Regions from separate parts of the Homo sapiens genome. Here region 1 is linked to region 2. Evidence: promoter capture Hi-C in 16 types of primary human blood cells and fetal thymus (Javierre and others, 2016). All regions are on one chromosome and are shown on one strand. The core of a region is centred on a gene start or on the middle of the fragment in contact, and the rest is flanking DNA. Distances in the headings are between cores, read along the strand shown. Region 1 overlaps C1orf105 (chromosome 1 open reading frame 105). Region 2 holds the start of MYOC (myocilin).

Region 1 (3,098 bases), core at 149-2,648, 780 kb before region 2:
CAGCCTTTGTTAAATTGAGAAGAGTTAGCGCCTTGTTGTGGTTTATGCTTTGGCCTAAAGGGAATGTTGTGACTGGTTTAGCCTTTTATACAGACCACTATAACTTTATCTGTATTAACAGTAAGGCTCTTTTAGTTTCTTATCATGGGAGTACCACTTTTAATTTCCTTCAATAACTTTTTATTTGCATTCACAACTTGGCTGTTTGTCACAAGAGGCCTGGCTTTCAGCCTGTCTCGGCTTTTGATATGCCTTCTTCACTAAGCTTAATCATTTCTACTTTTGATTTAAAATGAGAGATGTGCAACTCTTCATTTGAACAGTTAAAAGCCATTGCAGGGTTATTAATTGGCTTAATTTTGATACTGTTGTGTCTCAGGAAATAGGGAGGCCCAAGAAGAGGAAGAAAGACAGGGAAGAGCTGGTCAGTGGAGCAGTCAGAACACACACACATATCCACTAAGTTTGCCCTCTTATATGGGTATAGTTTGTGGTACCCCAAAACAATTGCAATGGTAACATCAAAGATCACTGATCACAGATCAGCATAACAGATATGATAATAAAGTTTGAAATATTGTCATAATTACCAAAATGTGACACAGGAACACAAAGTGAGCACATGCAATTGGAACAATGGCACTGACAGACTTGCTTAACACAAGGTTGCCACAAATCTTCAATTTGTAAAAAATGCTGTATCTGGCTGGGCGCAATGGCTCACACCTGCAATCTCAGCACTTTGGGAGGCTGAGGTGGGAAAATTGCTTGAACCCAGGAGTTTGAGACGAGCCTGGGCAACAAAGTGAGACTTCTGTCTCTACAAAAAATTTAAAAAATTAACTGGAGGTGGTGATGCGTGCCTGTGGTCCCAGCTGCACGAGAAGTTAAGGCAGGCAGATCTTGAGCCCAGGAGGTCGAGAATGCAGTGAGTTGTGTTCACATCACTGCACTCCAGCATGGGCAAAAAGCAAGACCCTGTCTCAAAAATAAATAAAAAAAGGTTTAAGAAAAATTGCAAATTAAAAATTCATTAAACGTTCTATTAAGAAAATGTCAAGCAATCCAGAGCCCTTAACTGCTGCCATCAGAAGGATGATGAGGCTCACCTGTGGCATGCCTCTTTGTGGGCTGCTGGCACAAGGATTCAGGCCTAGAAAACAATTGGTATAAAGTAGTATGACAGTTGTGGTGGGAAGTTACTCATCACTTAAATTCAGTGATCTAGTCAGTCTCTTATATTTAAACCACACTGAAAGGGTGCAAGTAGAATATGAATGATTTAGAGTTTTAGAGAATACTGTGGTGTGTGTGGGAAAGGGGGAAAGGTGAGGAGGAAAAGTTTACAGTAGCATTGGAATTAAATCCCAACCTGCCAAATATTTGCCAGCATAAGAAGCTGTCTGCCCTTCTCCCTCTACACCCCTTCCTCCCAGCTCTGCTTCTTATCACTCTAAGTTACAGGTAAGGCTGGAGGGTGGTGTGGCAAGTGAGATCAAGGACAGAGGAATGGGGAGGCAGCTTTGCTCACACTTCCAAAATGGTGCCAAGGATTAAGGATTAAAGTTGGTATGGGAGGGATTAAGAAGAAGTAGAGCAATAGGATGACAGGTGCACTTTATTTTGTGGCGTGATGCAGCTGATTTATGATTGGCATGTAACTAGAAGGCTTGTGCATCTGGCTGTAGCAACATGCCTGGTGTTCTGTGTGGAGATTGTATTGGTGTCAGTAAACTTTTGAGAAATACTTTGGGCAGCTGGGTTACATTGTGGATTTAATAATTCATACCAAGCATATAGAGGATGCATATTGAGCCATCATTTACATCCTCCAAGCCAAAGGCTCAAGGACAAGAAAAAGAAAACAAGTCAGCAGAGGGCATCAGTTACATAGTTATACAAAATTTCAAACCTGTTGTATTTAGGGAAACAGGGCTGGGACACAGTGCCATCTTGTGGAAGTGATTGATTTCCCTTTTTATAAGAGATGCAATTAGAGTCTTGAAATTCTTGCTGAATTGTGGTTTGGGAAATAACTACACCTGAATTAATGAGTCTGAGGTCTCCATAAATTCAGGAGGTAAATAGCATACTGGGGTTTGATAAATAATAGCACCTGTATTTTAGAGCACCCAATGCGTGCTAGGTAACGTGCTATGCACGTTGTGTGTGTATGTGTGTGTGTGTCTGTGTGTGTGTGTGTGTGTGTGTGTGTGTGTGTATATTTGTATTTACTTCTCACAGCAATCCTGTAAGAGGTTTTATTTCCATTTCACAGTTGAGACTGAGACTCAGAGTGGGTTAAGTATTGCCTAAGGCTATGTTACCAACTTGGGCTAATACTTTGCTTTTCTTACACAAAGCCTGTGCTTGTGCCTGAATGGAGCCCAGGACTGAAGGATAATGGTAGGCAGTTGCTTTTAATGCTTTGTCAAATTCCTCATCGTTCCCTTATCCCTTATTCTCTTCCCCCAGTATCCAACAGTATCCCCCAAAATCCAACAAAATATTTAGTATCTACATAAGCTTCCCTCTACTCACCTTCTACCATTCAGATTTTTATAGTGTGTGGCTTCAGGAATTTATTGTCAATAAATATTTTTTGAGTACTTACTGTATGACAAATACTGTTCTGTGTGCTTGGAATATATCTGTAAATAAAAAGGACAAAGGTTCTTGACCTAGTAGAGCTGACATTATAGCAGGAGGAGATAGATAATAAACATAAATGGAAGGTAGTAAGTGCTATGGAAAAAAGAAAAAAGTGGCATAGCATTAAATAAAGAGGTCAGAGTAGGTCTCATGGGAAAGGTAACATTTTACCAAAGACTTGAAGGAAGTGAGGGAGTAATTCAGATTCCCTGGGGAAGAGCATCCCAGTCAGAGGGAAGAGCTGCAGAGGAAAGAGCTGCTACAAAACCTTTGGGCAGAAGAATACCTGGCATGTGTGGGGAATAGCAAGGAGTGGCTGAAGTGGAGTGAGCAACAGAAGACGAAGTCGTAGAGGTAACGTGGGAAGCTAGATTATGTATGACATTGTAAGCTACTAGCTTAGGCTTTTACTCTGAGATAGGAGCCATTGGAGGGTCATGGAGAAA
Region 2 (3,339 bases), core at 535-3,034:
AGAAAGACAGATTCATTCAAGGGCAGTGGGAATTGACCACAGGGATTATAGTCCACGTGATCCTGGGTTCTAGGAGGCAGGGCTATATTGTGGGGGGAAAAAATCAGTTCAAGGGAAGTCGGGAGACCTGATTTCTAATACTATATTTTTCCTTTACAAGCTGAGTAATTCTGAGCAAGTCACAAGGTAGTAACTGAGGCTGTAAGATTACTTAGTTTCTCCTTATTAGGAACTCTTTTTCTCTGTGGAGTTAGCAGCACAAGGGCAATCCCGTTTCTTTTAACAGGAAGAAAACATTCCTAAGAGTAAAGCCAAACAGATTCAAGCCTAGGTCTTGCTGACTATATGATTGGTTTTTTGAAAAATCATTTCAGCGATGTTTACTATCTGATTCAGAAAATGAGACTAGTACCCTTTGGTCAGCTGTAAACAAACACCCATTTGTAAATGTCTCAAGTTCAGGCTTAACTGCAGAACCAATCAAATAAGAATAGAATCTTTAGAGCAAACTGTGTTTCTCCACTCTGGAGGTGAGTCTGCCAGGGCAGTTTGGAAATATTTACTTCACAAGTATTGACACTGTTGTTGGTATTAACAACATAAAGTTGCTCAAAGGCAATCATTATTTCAAGTGGCTTAAAGTTACTTCTGACAGTTTTGGTATATTTATTGGCTATTGCCATTTGCTTTTTGTTTTTTCTCTTTGGGTTTATTAATGTAAAGCAGGGATTATTAACCTACAGTCCAGAAAGCCTGTGAATTTGAATGAGGAAAAAATTACATTTTTGTTTTTACCACCTTCTAACTAAATTTAACATTTTATTCCATTGCGAATAGAGCCATAAACTCAAAGTGGTAATAACAGTACCTGTGATTTTGTCATTACCAATAGAAATCACAGACATTTTATACTATATTACAGTTGTTGCAGATACGTTGTAAGTGAAATATTTATACTCAAAACTACTTTGAAATTAGACCTCCTGCTGGATCTTGTTTTTAACATATTAATAAAACATGTTTAAAATTTTGATATTTTGATAATCATATTTCATTATCATTTGTTTCCTTTGTAATCTATATTTTATATATTTGAAAACATCTTTCTGAGAAGAGTTCCCCAGATTTCACCAATGAGGTTCTTGGCATGCACACACACAGAGTAAGAACTGATTTAGAGGCTAACATTGACATTGGTGCCTGAGATGCAAGACTGAAATTAGAAAGTTCTCCCAAAGATACACAGTTGTTTTAAAGCTAGGGGTGAGGGGGGAAATCTGCCGCTTCTATAGGAATGCTCTCCCTGGAGCCTGGTAGGGTGCTGTCCTTGTGTTCTGGCTGGCTGTTATTTTTCTCTGTCCCTGCTACGTCTTAAAGGACTTGTTTGGATCTCCAGTTCCTAGCATAGTGCCTGGCACAGTGCAGGTTCTCAATGAGTTTGCAGAGTGAATGGAAATATAAACTAGAAATATATCCTTGTTGAAATCAGCACACCAGTAGTCCTGGTGTAAGTGTGTGTACGTGTGTGTGTGTGTGTGTGTGTGTGTAAAACCAGGTGGAGATATAGGAACTATTATTGGGGTATGGGTGCATAAATTGGGATGTTCTTTTTAAAAAGAAACTCCAAACAGACTTCTGGAAGGTTATTTTCTAAGAATCTTGCTGGCAGCGTGAAGGCAACCCCCCTGTGCACAGCCCCACCCAGCCTCACGTGGCCACCTCTGTCTTCCCCCATGAAGGGCTGGCTCCCCAGTATATATAAACCTCTCTGGAGCTCGGGCATGAGCCAGCAAGGCCACCCATCCAGGCACCTCTCAGCACAGCAGAGCTTTCCAGAGGAAGCCTCACCAAGCCTCTGCAATGAGGTTCTTCTGTGCACGTTGCTGCAGCTTTGGGCCTGAGATGCCAGCTGTCCAGCTGCTGCTTCTGGCCTGCCTGGTGTGGGATGTGGGGGCCAGGACAGCTCAGCTCAGGAAGGCCAATGACCAGAGTGGCCGATGCCAGTATACCTTCAGTGTGGCCAGTCCCAATGAATCCAGCTGCCCAGAGCAGAGCCAGGCCATGTCAGTCATCCATAACTTACAGAGAGACAGCAGCACCCAACGCTTAGACCTGGAGGCCACCAAAGCTCGACTCAGCTCCCTGGAGAGCCTCCTCCACCAATTGACCTTGGACCAGGCTGCCAGGCCCCAGGAGACCCAGGAGGGGCTGCAGAGGGAGCTGGGCACCCTGAGGCGGGAGCGGGACCAGCTGGAAACCCAAACCAGAGAGTTGGAGACTGCCTACAGCAACCTCCTCCGAGACAAGTCAGTTCTGGAGGAAGAGAAGAAGCGACTAAGGCAAGAAAATGAGAATCTGGCCAGGAGGTTGGAAAGCAGCAGCCAGGAGGTAGCAAGGCTGAGAAGGGGCCAGTGTCCCCAGACCCGAGACACTGCTCGGGCTGTGCCACCAGGCTCCAGAGAAGGTAAGAATGCAGAGTGGGGGGACTCTGAGTTCAGCAGGTGATATGGCTCGTAGTGACCTGCTACAGGCGCTCCAGGCCTCCCTGCCTGCCCTTTCTCCTAGAGACTGCACAGCTAGCACAAGACAGATGAATTAAGGAAAGCACAGCGATCACCTTCAAGTATTACTAGTAATTTAGCTCCTGAGAGCTTCATTTAGATTAGTGGTTCAGAGTTCTTGTGCCCCTCCATGTCAGTTTTCACAGTCCATAGCAAAAGGAGAAATAAAAGGACCGGGTGAGATGTGTCTGCATATGAGCAGTAGAAAGTTGTCAATTGTCCCTTTTGAAAAACTATCCTTTTTTGAACCTTTGCTCAGATTGTTATTTGTACCTTTTGATGTTAAAATGACCTTTATTTATGAAATTACAATAGATTTGGGAAATGATAATAAGTGGTAAGTTTTTGTTTATTTTTAAATGTTCTTCCCTGGCAAAATAAAGAGATGGCACCTCTCTGTCAGTTTTCTTAATATGTTGTTCTGAAAGTTTTCTTACTCAGTCCAATCTGAGAACCTCTGCTTTTAAGTCATCAGACAAATTCTTGAGATGGCTTTTTCTGAGAGGCTCTTCTGTTCATCCTGGTCCCTTCTTGCCTAAAGGTGAGTCTGTGTGTGTGTGGGGGGGGTGCGGGGGTGAGGTGTTGGGGGAGGTCTTCTTATTAGCTGGGAAGATGGTATTTGTGTCACTTTTTGTGAAAGTGGGCTCCCAAATATTCCCTGTTGAGGAAGTGTTCTAATCATGAGGAAATAAGCAAGCAAATCCAGTTGTTGGACAATTAGTTTGGACTGGTCAAAGATGTCAGTGCCAAGGAAGAAAGAAAAAAGGGGTGGGGAAGG

What was found. Contacts are between HindIII fragments. The CHiCAGO score rates a contact against its expected background, and 5 or more counts as called.
Region 1: a contact is called between a fragment that was not itself captured here and the fragment with the promoter of MYOC in region 2, in 1 of 17 cell types (M1 macrophages). The highest score is 5.1, in M1 macrophages.

What each region holds. Positions count from the first base shown.
Region 1 is chr1:172,428,347-172,431,444 of GRCh38, reverse strand. All of the region lies in intron 1 of C1orf105 (chromosome 1 open reading frame 105), which reads right to left. Among named protein-coding and RNA genes, the nearest start is that of C1orf105, 9.2 kb to the right of the region's middle. RefSeq lists an enhancer at 2,095-2,617. The HindIII fragment of the contact is 2,261 bases long and covers 268-2,528 here.
Region 2 is chr1:171,651,133-171,654,471 of GRCh38, reverse strand. MYOC (myocilin) reads left to right here and starts at 1,784. Exons shown (of 3, transcript NM_000261.2): 1 at 1,784-2,464. The coding sequence starts at 1,861. The HindIII fragment of the contact is 6,597 bases long and covers 1-3,339 here.